Regions from separate parts of the Homo sapiens genome. Here regions 2 and 3 are each linked to region 1. The links are contacts of gene promoters, found by promoter capture Hi-C in human tissues and cell types (Jung and others, 2019). All regions are on one chromosome and are shown on one strand. The core of a region is centred on a gene start or on the middle of the fragment in contact, and the rest is flanking DNA. Distances in the headings are between cores, read along the strand shown. Region 1 holds the start of SPOCD1 (SPOC domain containing 1). Region 2 holds the start of KHDRBS1 (KH RNA binding domain containing, signal transduction associated 1). Region 3 has its middle 25 kb from the start of TMEM39B.

The links. Contacts are between HindIII fragments. The study calls those that stand out against the background at their distance.
Region 2: the fragment with the promoter of KHDRBS1 here is called in contact with the fragment with the promoter of SPOCD1 in region 1 in 6 of the 25 tissues and cell types used here (IMR-90 fibroblasts, hippocampus, mesenchymal stem cells and 3 more).
Region 3: a contact is called between a fragment that was not itself captured here and the fragment with the promoter of SPOCD1 in region 1, in 1 of the 25 tissues and cell types used here (liver).

What each region holds. Positions count from the first base shown.
Region 1 is chr1:31,814,629-31,819,071 of GRCh38, reverse strand. SPOCD1 (SPOC domain containing 1) reads left to right here and starts at 3,050. Exons shown (of 16, transcript NM_144569.7): 1 at 3,050-3,111; 2 at 3,700-4,443. The coding sequence starts at 3,739. The HindIII fragment of the contact is 15,941 bases long and covers 1-4,443 here.
Region 2 is chr1:32,012,571-32,016,458 of GRCh38, reverse strand. It overlaps KHDRBS1 (KH RNA binding domain containing, signal transduction associated 1), which reads right to left and starts at 2,591. Exons shown (of 9, transcript NM_006559.3): 1 at 2,082-2,591. The coding sequence starts at 2,463. RefSeq lists silencers at 1,583-1,692, 2,173-2,382 and an enhancer at 1,786-2,356. The HindIII fragment of the contact is 12,423 bases long and covers 1-3,888 here.
Region 3 is chr1:32,045,516-32,049,714 of GRCh38, reverse strand. It overlaps a transcript of KHDRBS1 not described here. Among named protein-coding and RNA genes, the nearest start is that of TMEM39B, 25 kb to the left of the region's middle. The HindIII fragment of the contact is 3,894 bases long and covers 1-3,739 here.

The DNA.
Region 1 (4,443 bases), core at 1,801-4,300:
TACTCCGGAGGCTGAGGCAGAAGAATCGCTTGAACCCGGGAGGTGGAGGTTGCAGTGAGTCGAGATCATGCCACTGCACTCCAGTCTGGGTGATAGAGTGAGACTGTCTCAAAAAAACAAAAAAATAAAAATAAAATAAATAAATAGAATACCAGGAGACAGAGAAACTGGCCAGAGACTGGCTGGCTTCTAAAACCAGTCCTTGCTAATCTTGAGCAAATTACTTAATCTGTCTTGGCCTATTTCCTCATCTGTCAAATAAGGATAATAACAGTTCTTACCTCACAGACTTGATGTAAGGATTAATATAGGTAAATTAATACAGGCAAATACAGGATTAATATAGGTAAAGCATTTAGACCAGTCCCTGGCTCAAAACAGCACTACGTAAGTGTTAGCCATTCTTTATCTCTATACCATGTGGAACTGACAACATCTCCACTCCCGTTTTCTCTGCCCAATGTGGGAGACTTCCATTATCCAAATGGACCAGAATGGCTTGGTTCACTGGTCTTAGGGAACCTGGTCAACTTTCTGCCATCATGACCAAGACATTCCTTAGAGGGAGGGCTTCTCATTTACAAAAACTATTTCCTTAGAGCAGTAATTTTGGTCATTGGTGACATCCAGTCTCTACTCTTACCTCATCTATGACTCTGACTGCCAGATCATGACAGTTTTCAATATGGATTACCCAATAGCTTGGTTTGTTTTTTGTAATAAACCTTGTTTTTTAGAATAGTTTTAGATCTACAGAAAAATCTGAAGATTAGTACAGGGAGTTCCTGTGTACTCCAGACTCGGTTTCCCTTGTTATTCATATTATGCTGTTTTTAAAATTCCACATTATATCATTGAGATACATTCATGTTGATATATAGATCTAATTTATTGAGTCTAACTGTGATTTAGTATTCCATTGGCCTGGAAGGTTCTCACAGTCTCACCTGGCACAGGTTTAGTGCCAGGGAATTCCATCTCCCTCGCAATCAGACTTATCAAATCTCTGGTTCTGGCCGGGTGCAGTGGCTCACGCCTGAAATCCCAGGCCAAGATGGGAGGATCGCTTGAGCTCAGGAGTTCGAGACCAGTCTGGGCCACATAGTGAGACCTCGTCTCCACCAAAAATAAAAAAAAAATTAGCTGGGCATGGCGGTGCATGCCTGTAGTACCAGCGACTCAGGAGGCTGAGAGGGGAATATCACTTGAGCCTGGGAGGTCAAAGCTGCAGTGAGCTATGATTACACTACCACAACTCAGCCTGAGCGACAGAGCCAGACCCTATCTCAAAAAAAAAAAAAAAAAAAAAAAAAGCCAAACACCACTGTTTCTGCAGTAAAAGTATTTACATAATCATAACATTATAAATGTCATTTGGCTTTCAGTGTTAAGAATCAATCTACAGGTAAACAACGGTAAACTGAATTATCTTTACCGAATAGAATGTAAATGCTATAAACCTCAGCGATACAAAAATAAAAGCTTAGTTCATGGATAACGGCAGAAGCAGGGAGGGGACATCAAGGGAAATTATCCATTTCACACAGAGAAGAGTCAAGAGATACAATATACAGAAGAAACAGACATTTAAGAATAGTATTCAAAGTGATAATAGAAACCAATAGTAAAATTTAAAATATAAATATAAAAAAGAGGGCCAGGCACGGTGGCTAACGCCTGTAATCCCAGCAATTTGGGAGGCTGAGGTGGGTGGAACACGAGGTCAGGAGTTTGAGACCAGCTTGGCCAGCATGGTGAAACCCTGTCTCCACGAAAAATACAAAAATTAGCAGGGCATGGTGGCACGTGCCTGTAGTCCCAGCTACTCGGGAGGGTGAGGTAGGAGAATCACTTGACCCTGGGAGGCAGAGGTTGTAGTGAGCTGAGACTGTGCCACTGCACTCCAGCGTGGGCGACAGAGCGAGACGCTGTTTCAAAAAAAAAAAAAAAATATATATATATATATATATATGAAAAGCGGAAGAGAAAGGGGGAAAGGGTGGTTAATAAAATCACCACAGCAGGAAGTCAACAGATACAACAGACACAGTTAAAATTAATAAATCAAGTAATAGAGGCATGAGTATATTATTTACAGTTATGAAATTTAAAAAATTAACATGATGACAAACATGGTAAAAAACAAAAAACAAAACACAGTTGTTTCCAGGAGTTGGGGTATTGGGAAATGAGAGATAGCTTTAAACTTTTTATTTCTAACCTTCTATTGGAATTGATTCTGCATTTCCATCTACATTAATTATATTTGAGATTTTCTTTTTAAATTAGGCAAGCACTATTCACAATAGCAAAGACATGGAATCAACCTAAATGCCCATCAATGGCAGATTGGCTAAAGAAAATGTGGTACATATACACAATGGAATACTATGCAGCCATAAAAAAGAATGAGATCACGTCCTTTGCAGGAACGTGGATGGAGCTGGAGGCCATTATCCTTAGCAAACTAATGCAGGAACGGAAAAACCAAATATTGCATGTTCTCACTTATAAGTGGGAGCTAAATGGTGAGAACACATGGACAGAAAGAGGTTAACAACAGACACTGGGGCCTGCTTGAGGGTGGAGGGTAGGAGGCAGTAGAAGATAAGAAAAAATAAATATTGGGTACTAGGCTTGATAACTGGGTGACGAAATAATCTGTACAACAACCCCCGTGACACAAGTTTACCTATATTAAAAACCTGCATATGGACCTCTGACCCTAAAATAAAAGTTTAAAAATAAAATAAAATAAAATTAGGCAAAAAATCTAGGTAATTCTGACATTGTCCTACTGGCTCAGGGACTATTGCGGTAGGATCAAGTTAAACTCTCAGGCAGGCAGCCAAGGCCCCTCGCTGCCCCATGCACCCACCTACCTCTGCTTGGGAGCCAGGATTGGCACCTCCTCCAGGAAGCCCTCAGGAGGAAGAGGGCGCCCTCTGCCGGGGCAGGAACGCCAGCACGCCTGGGGAGCAGCCTTTTGCTCATCATCAGGGACTCCGCCCCTATCCCTCAGCAAGGGCCTCCCTCCCCCGCATCACGTGATCTCAGCTCCTTTTCAGCTAGTGGGTGGAACCCCAGGAGGGAAAACTCAGGGAAGCCCAGGTGAGAGCGACGCGACCGATGGGGCCCGGATTTCTTGGATGCTGGGGGACTGTCCCAGTAAGGCTTGGGAACCTGGGTGGGGCGCCTTTCAGAACGGGACCGATGGGAGAGAGACGAGAAGGGTTATGGGCACGAACCCCGTTCAGTATCTGCTCCTTGCGCAGTGTGAGAACTGGGAGAGAGACTCCTGGCCCTTCCACTTCCTGTGCTTCCTTGGGTGAGTGTCTTAACATCTCAGAATCTCAGTGTCCTCACCTGTGGCTGCCAGTATGAAATGAAATAAGCACATAAGTCATAAATAAATGGTATCTTATTAGGTCCCATTTAAGCGAATGTGTGAACTCTCAGAGACAAGAAGACCCTGGAGGCCACTGTAGCTCGGCCCTGTTTGGAGGCAGGCCTCTCCACCCTCACCCAGGACACCAGCTCCTGCTGGGTGCTCCCCTCCCTGGAGTGCTCACCCCTAGGCCTCAGGAGTGGAAGGGTCTGGGAGAGCTGGCTGGAAGAGGGGCTCCTCCCAGTTCCCACTGAACGGGCTGACAGGTCGGACTCTCCAAGACAAAGTCTCCTCTTTCTGTCTCCACACAGGGCCCGTGTTGTGCTTTTGGCCCAGGTAGGTGGACAGACATGTCCCAGGCGGGGGACGTAGAAGGCCCCAGCACAGGAGACCCTGTGCTCAGTCCCCAACACAACTGTGAGCTTTTACAGAACATGGAAGGAGCCAGCTCCATGCCAGGCCTGTCACCAGATGGGCCGGGAGCAAGCTCTGGGCCCGGAGTCAGGGCTGGCAGCAGAAGGAAGATCCCCAGGAAGGAGGCCCTTCGAGGTGGCAGCTCCCGGGCTGCAGGTGCTGCTGAGGTCCGGCCAGGGGTCTTGGAGCTGCTAGCTGTGGTACAGAGCCGGGGCTCGATGCTGGCTCCTGGGCTCCACATGCAGCTGCCCTCGGTGCCTACTCAGGGGAGAGCTCTGACCTCCAAGAGGCTCCAGGTTTCTCTGTGTGACATCTTAGATGACAGTTGCCCCAGGAAACTTTGTAGCAGGTCTGCTGGCCTCCCAGAGAGAGCTCTGGCCTGCAGGGAGAGGCTTGCAGGAGTGGAGGAGGTGAGCTGCCTCAGGCCCAGGGAGGCCAGAGACGGTGGAATGAGTTCTCCAGGGTGTGACAGAAGAAGCCCCACACTCAGCAAAGAGGAGCCCCCTGGAAGGCCCCTGACATCCTCACCAGACCCAGTCCCTGTGAGGGTAAGAAAGAAATGGAGGAGGCAAGGGGCTCATTCAGAGTGTGAGGAAGGGGCTGGTGACTTCCTGTGGCTTGATCAGAGCCCTCGTGGGGAC
Region 2 (3,888 bases), core at 1,342-3,841, 200 kb before region 1:
TACAATTTGCAGCAGGCACTATAGTGAGGGAACGGGGAAGGTGTGTAGACTGACCAAAAATCCTGGTTACGATGCTTACTAATTTTGTTACCTTAGGCAAATTATTAATCTCTGGGTGTCTTGGTTTCCTCATCTGTATAAGTGAGGATAATAAAAGTAAGTTCTCATTTCATTTTATAGGTTAAATATTTAATGTAAAGTGCTCAGACCTCAAACATTAAGTGTTAGCTATATTTTTCTTCCGTGTGTTCTTTTCTTTTTTTTTTTTTTTTCCTTTTTTGAGATGGAGTTTAGCTCTTGTTGCCCAGGCTGGAGTGTAATGGCGCAATCTGGGCTCCCTGCAACCTTCGCTTCCCAGGTTCAAGTGATTTTCCTGCCTCAGCTTCCAAAGTAGCTGGGATCACAGGCGTGCGCCACCACGCGAAGCTAATTTTGTATTTTTAGTAGAGACGGGGTTTCACCATGTTGATCAGGCTGGTCTCCAACTCCTGACCTCGCGATCAGCCCGTCTCGGCCTCCCAAAGTGCTGGGATTACAGGCGTGAGCCACCGCGCCTGCCCCTTCCATGTGATCTTACCAGAGCTTAAATACTACTATTCTATCTTCTCAAAGTCTCACTTCCGCACAATGGGTTGTGACTTCACTGCAATCCCCTTGCAAGATAATTCAGAAATACCTTAAAAGCCAGGCTCAACATATATTAACACTTATCCATGCTAGAAAGAATTCATACATCCCAAACCAACAGTAACCTCAATCACATTTCTCCAATTTCAGTTGGGTTTAAAAAAAATACATCCAGAAAGCCCAAGTTAAAAATAAAGAGCACTCTCTTAGTTAAGCAGTGAGGGGAGACTGAAAATTAAAAGTAACTTTTAAGGATCAACAGTTTTTGACAGTTATCTTAAGAAAGCATAAAAGATGAACACCACACTGGTAAAGATCCCTTACCTTACAGTGTTGGGAGACAGAGAACAAAGGGAGGGAGATAATATTTTCATAATGAACTGTCCATTATATTAACCTTGCCAAAGAGTCCAACTACTCATTCAGTGTTGAAGGATGTGAATTTTTACTTGCTTAGTAAAATTTAGGTATCATAAAAAATATTAAAATAATATTTTAACTAGAAGCGAAAGTCAGACAGCTTTAGGGAAAAATCAGAGCGACTAGGTGATTGGCCAGTGCTGATGAGGAAAAGAGCGCTAACCTACAGAACAAAGACTCTCATTTCTAATCTATTTCACTACTGAATCAAAAATGTAAAAAACAGCAACAAAAAGGCCAAGCCTTTCAGTACAAGCATCATGCAACTTCTCTCAATTTCTGTCCATCTCGTTGGGAAACGTCATGTGAACTACGCGGGAGTCCCTATCGTCCCATTTCACTGTCTCTAGGGTTACTTCACTCCTTCAACGACAGTGAACACACGGTGTAAAATGGCTCAGTAGCAATTCTTATTTTATCAGCCTTAGTCGGAAATCTGATTCGGAAACCTCAAGCTCCGATCCACATAAATCGCTCCTTCCTCCCAGCAACTTAAGCTGCGGTTACCGCTAAGTCCGGCTCGGCCCCAGCGACAGCAAGGCACTGGACAGGGCATTCCAGCCTCACCCCACCTCACCTCGGCCCTTCCTCCCACGGTCCCTCCCCGCTCTGGCTGTCTTCACCTCCTACACCTCGGTCGAGGCGCTCATCGCCACCCGCGATCAAAAAGGGTTTCCCTTCAGGGAAAGGGGGAAATGAAGGTTCATTTCTGGAAGAATCTGCGCGCCCGGCAGCCGCAAGAGGAGGGAGGAGGGAAGAGTCGGGAAAGGGGCGGGGAGCTCAGCACTATCCATCAAGACATTAGCGCTAGGGGATCGCAAAGTCGCCTTCGGGCCTCCACTGCAGCCTAGAAATTCTCCCACGCACTCCGGGCTGAGGTGGGAATGTGGAATCCAGGCTCCCAAAAATGAGGATGAGACCGGAACTCCCGACTGCCTCGGTCCCGAGGGGGCGGGAAGCGAGAGGAACAAAGCCAGGGCCACTCATGCCCGGGATGGCCGGGCGACCCAGAGGGACACGGGAGGCCCCCTTACCTGCCGTCAGCAGCTGCATGGCGTGAGTGAAGGACGGGTCGAGCGAGTCCTTCTCGGCCATGAGTTCGGGCAGGTACTTGTTCTCTGGCTCCATCTTGACCGAGGCTGTGGCCGAGGGGGGCAGCAGCGGGGTCGGCGCTGGCCCGCCCACTGTCGCGTCGGGACCCGTGGCCGAGGGCGGCAGCAGCGGTGGCGGCTGCGTGGCGGGCGAGGCCCGGGCGCCCCCGCGGGATCCCCCTCCGCCTCCCCGGGACCGGTGAGGCAGCGGCGGCTGCCGAGACGGCGTCTGACGCACCGAGGGGTGGGCACCGGAGGGGTCCATGGAGCCGCTACGGCCCGAAGACCGGCTCATGCGCGCGGCGGGGTCGTCCCGGCGCTGCATCTGGGAGGATGTGCGATCCAAGGAGCGAGAAAGCGACGCGGCAGCGACGGAGGCCCGAGCGGCGGTTGGCGGGGGTGGCAGAGCGGGAGCGGTAGCGACCGAAGCCGACCCGAGCGACCCAGCGAGAGAGAGCACCGGAAATGAGGCGGCGCGCGTGCGCAGCCAGCCACCGGCACCGCCCTTGGGTTTCTCCGCGGAGAACAAAGTCCCCAGTCCGGCCACGGCGCCTGCGCACCGCCGCGGCGTCCGAGAAGTCGCCTCCCGACTCTGGCTTTCCCTCCGCTCCCGCCAGGCCAGAGCTTGATGCGCATGCGCGGGAGGCAGTGGGCTCCGTTCGTTTCGTTTTCCACGTGACTCGGCGCTAGCGGAACACGTGTCTCCTCCCCTTTCTGGCGTGGAGGGGGCGGGAGCTGTGGAATGTCTTTGTCTGCGCGCGGGCCCGCGGAGTGTGGGGCGGGAGACCTGTTACTCGCGGGGCCACGCCCTCTCCAACGGCTGAGCAGTGGAGGGAGGCTGTGGGGAGTGGGGTGGGGGGCGGTCACCGAAGTAAGGAAGTAAAAGACTGCCGAGAGGGTCACGGAAAGGGGAGGGAGAGAGAATTGAGACCGCCTGGGGAGGAAGACAGGAGTGAGACAGACTGCACAGGGAGAAAGGAAGGCTGAGGGAGAGTCTGATGCAGGGGGAAAGTTGGGGAAGGGAAACCTGGAGGGAGAAATTGAGGAAGGACGGCTTGGTGGAAACACTGAAGGCGATTGGAGTACTTGAACTAAGAGGGATGGTTCAGATCAGAGATCTGAAGTCTAGCAAAGAAAAGGGTCCCAGACATCAGGGAACACAAGAAGTTGTTTCCAGTATATATATTTCCAGTATTACATATATTCCAGTCGGTTCTAAAACGGTTGACATTGTTGGTACGGGAAATCTTAAGCAGCATTTTAGCTCTTTTTACATATTTTACTGCTTTTTCTGAATTGTGTTTGTTTTGTTTCGCCGTCATTATTGCCAATTAAGTGTTTCTTCCTTCAAAAAGTGAGGTAGAGACCAGATCCTTAATCCACGTTGGTTGCATCATTAGGATGGCTTCTTCTACCACTCCAGACTTGCTCAAAGAGACCCTTGCCACTACTCTCAAAGGCAAGGTACATAGTGGACAGTCGCCTACGACGTTCTCCACATCCTGGTGTGCTATATGCAAGTGGAGCCTTAGGTCCCTACTTGTCCCATAAGCCATCAAAAGCCTGGTGCCCTCTCTAACTTTCCCTTCCCTCCGCAGATTATTTTCTTCTTCCATTTAAAGCACTCACTCCCATCTCTTTTCCTTCTGGATTAGTTCTCCTAATGAGCCCACACTTTTCAAAAGTCTTTGGGGACCGGTGCGGTGGCTTATGCCTGTAATCCCAGCACTTTGGGAGGCCTAGGTGGGAG
Region 3 (4,199 bases), core at 543-3,042, 230 kb before region 1:
ACTCCAGCCTGGGCGACAGAGTGAGACTCTGTCTCAAAAAAAAAAAAATAAAAAATAAAAAAATAAACAGAGTCACCGTATGACCCAGAACCCAGAAATTCTTCTAGGTATATACCCAAGAAACTGAAAACATGTCCACACAAAAACTTATATACAAATATTCAAAGCAGTATTATTCATAATAGCCAAAAAGTAGAAATAATCCAAATGCCTGTCAATGGATCAATGAATAAATGAAACGTAGTATATGCATACAGTGAAATCGCATTTAACAGTAAAAAAAAAAAAAAGAACAAAGTAGGGATACATGCTACAACATGGATGAACCTTGAAAACATCCGAAGTGAAAGGAGGCCAGTCAGCTGAGCGTGATGGCTCACGTCTGTAATCCCAAACTTTGGAAGGCCAAGGTAGGCGGATCACCTGAAGTCACGAGTTCGAGACCAGCCTGGCCAACACGGTGAAACCCCACCTCTACCAAAAATACAAAAATTAGCCAGGCATGGAGGCGCGTGCCTATAATCCCAGCTACTCAGGAAGGCAGGAGAATCGCTTGAACCTGGGAGGCGGAGGTTGCAGTTGCAGTGAGCTGAGATCGCACCACTGCACTCCAACCTGAGCGACAGAGCAACACCCCGTCTCAAAAAAAAACCAAAAAAACAAAAAAAAAACAAAAAGGAAGCCAGTCACAGAAGACCACTTATTGTATAATTTCATTTGTATGAAATCATACAGAAAGTGGTCTTCTGTGACTGGCTAAACCCTTGGACTTAGCCTTCTGGAGGCTAAACCCTTGTCATCTTTAGAGACAGAAAGCAGAGTAGTAGCCTACGGCTGGAGGGAATAAATAGATTGGTGGAAGACAGATAAAAGGCATGGGGTTTCTTTTTGGAATGATAAAGACATTTTAAATGGGCCCTAGTGATGACTGAACAACTCTGTATATACTAAAAACCACTGAATTATACACTTTAAGTGAGAGAACAGTATGGTATGTGAATTATATCTCAATAAAGTTGTTATTTTAAAATTCCGCCAAAACTCTAGACTTCTTTGCCACTAGGACAGTTATGTCTGTCCAAAAAGAATCACTTAAAAATGCTAACATGACCTTTAATTTATACTAACAGAAGCTAACCACAGGCTGCAAACTGGTAAGCTAAAGGCCACATCTGGCATGCAGCAAATGTATTTTATTGGGACCAATAGTATTTTAAAAACTTTCTACCCGGGCTGGAGTACAGTGTTGTGATCATAGCATACTGTAACCTTGAACTCCTCGACTCAAGTGATCCTCCTTCCCCTGCCTCCTGAGTAGCTAGGATAAGAGGTGCAAGCCATCATGCCCAGCTAATGCCCAGCTAACTTTTTGTAGAGACAGAGTCTGCTATGTTGTCCCGGCTTGTCTTGAACTCCTGGCCTCAAGTGATCCTCCCAACTCAGCCTCCCCAGGTGTTGGGATTACAGGCATGAGCTGCCATGCGCAGCCAAGAAAATTTTTAGAGAAGGGAAAGACACAGTAATGAAAATGATCTTCAAATACCTGAAAGGATGTTGCTTCAGAGGTCCAAAGCAGATTCAGTTTAAATTACTGAGGTACAGGTCTCATTCAAAATGAGAGATAAAATACTTAGAGCCATCTCTAATGAAATGGGCTGCTTTTGGAAGTAATGTTTCCTATGACTAGTATGAAGTACTATGTTACATGCTATAACCTGGATGAACCAAACACTATGCAAAGTCAAAGAAGCCAATTCCAAAAAGCATATATTATATGATTCCATTTATATGGAATGTTCAGAATAGGCAAACCCACAGAAAGAGTAGTGGCTGCCAACAGCTGGGGAGAGAAGGGAGTTGGGAGTGACTATTAGCAGATATAAGATTTGTTTTTAGAGTGATGGAAATATTCTGGAATTAAATAGTGGAAATGGTTGCACAGTATAAATATACTAAAAACTACTGCATTGTACACTTTAAAATTGTAAATTTTATGCTATGTGAATTTTTCCTCAAAACAGAAACAAAGGTAGAAAGGGACCAAATGAGATACTTACTAACTCTGTTAGGATATTATGATGCATACAGTGATAAATGTCAGGTATTATCATCAACTTCATTTGATGATAAATGAGGCACTGAAAGGGTTTTGTTTCTGACTAAGGTGACAAAGGCTCACATGAAGCAGAGCCAGGACAGATACCCAATCTTGCCTGTCTCTAAAGCTTACAGAATTGTAATAAAAGTTCACAGGCTGGCCGGGTACAGTGGCTCACGCCTGTGATCCTAGCACTTTGGGAGGCTGAGGTGGGCGGATCACTTGAAGCCAGGAGTTCAAGACTAGCCTGGCCAACATGGTGAAACCACATCTCTACTAAAAATACAAAAATTATCCAGGCGTGGTGGTGTGTGCCTATAATCCCAGCTACTCCGGAGGCTGAGGCAGGGGAATCGCTTGAACCCGGGAGGTGGAGGTCGCAGTAAGCTGAAATCACACCACTGCACTCCAGCCTGGGCAACAGAGTGAGACTCCACCTTAAAATAAATAAATAAAGTTCACAGGTAGTGAGTGATAGAATTTTACAGAAAACACTTGGATCAATGGGCGAAGCTACATGTCCAGAACAGGCAGAACACCAGCAGGCCTAGGTCCACAAACAGAACCTGCCTTTCCAAGCACAGTTCACAGTCCAAATGAAAGGTTTCCCCAAACTTCTAATCCATTTTTCTTCTTCAGACTACCCTAGGAAGAGTTGAGACTAAATTCTCTGCATTCAGGGATTCCCCACGCTAAATTTCCTAGCCATTCATGTGACCAACATCAAACGTAGGACTTGCCAGGTGCCCAGAATCTTGTTCAGTACATATGCCCCTCTCTTAAAGCTTCCAGATCTCTCACAGGCTGAGAGGCAGGCTTGGAAGAAAAAGAAATTCCAAGAAGCCAAATTTCACTGTGAAAGGTTCTATATGCGTAGGGCTTACCTAGTTAGGCCTTTCTCCTCAGTGTCATCCTAATCCTAACACCTCAGAGCAGAGAAAAAATCAGCCAGTTAGTTGCTTAATGGCTTCAATTAACAGGAAAGCTCACTGTTGTCACAGCCCCCAACTACACAAACCAGGGAGTCAAACTCCACATCCTTTCTTCTATACCACAATTATCCCTATGAAGGACCTCCTAAGTATAAGAAATATCCTTTCCCAGCCGGGTGTGGTGGCTCACGCCTGTAATCTCAGCACTTTGGGAGGCCAAGGTGGGTGGATCACCTGAGGTCAGGAGTTCGAGACCAGCCTGACCAATAAGGTGAAACCTCGTCTCTACTAAACAATACAAAAATTAGCCAGGCGTGGTGGCAGGTGCCTGTAGTCCCAGGTACTCGGGAGGCTGAGACAGGAGAATTGCTTGAACCCAGAGGCGGAGGTTGCAGTGAGCTGAGATTGCGCCACTGCAGCCAAGCCTGGGTAATGGAGCAGGGCTCCGTCTCAAAAAAAACAAAACAAAAGAAAACCAAAAAAACCAAAAAAAAAAAAGAAATACCCTTTCCCTAGATTAAGGACAGTATAGTATAGGATTAAGATGACAGGTTTTGGCAACAGAAATCTTGAGCTTGAGTACCAGCCATACTAATTATGGGACCCTGGGAAGTTACTTAACTTCACTAGGTCTAAGTTACTTCTGTAAAATATGGATATTACTGGACAATTGTTTCTGGGCTGCCCAGCATCCATTTCCCTTTCCTAACAACTCACCAACTGCCTTTTGAGGAACTGGTTTTTCTTACGCATGTGACTCAGCTAATCCAGTCTGATATTCCCTCTCTAAAACCTGAATCTTGAGTAGAGGCAGAAAGAGACCCAACATAGTTTGAGTTGTGCCCAAGGAGCCAGTCCTTGTTTCAAGATCGTTCCTGTGGTCTACCACTGTTGTCCCAGTTCCCTGCAGCCACTACAGTTCCCACACCAGATTTTTTATCCTTCGCACTGAACATTGAGCCCTTAACACCTTTCTAATAAAGTCTTTTTCATTTACATTAGCCACTTTGTTGCTTGCAACCAATGAACTCCAAGTGGAACACCACCTCATCAGGTTATTAACAGGATAAACAGAGTGGGATTCAACAGATCTAAGTTGATATTGTCTGGCCTTATCAACCACTAGATGTAAATTCAGTATGGACATGTAAGTGTGGTCATGTCGTAAA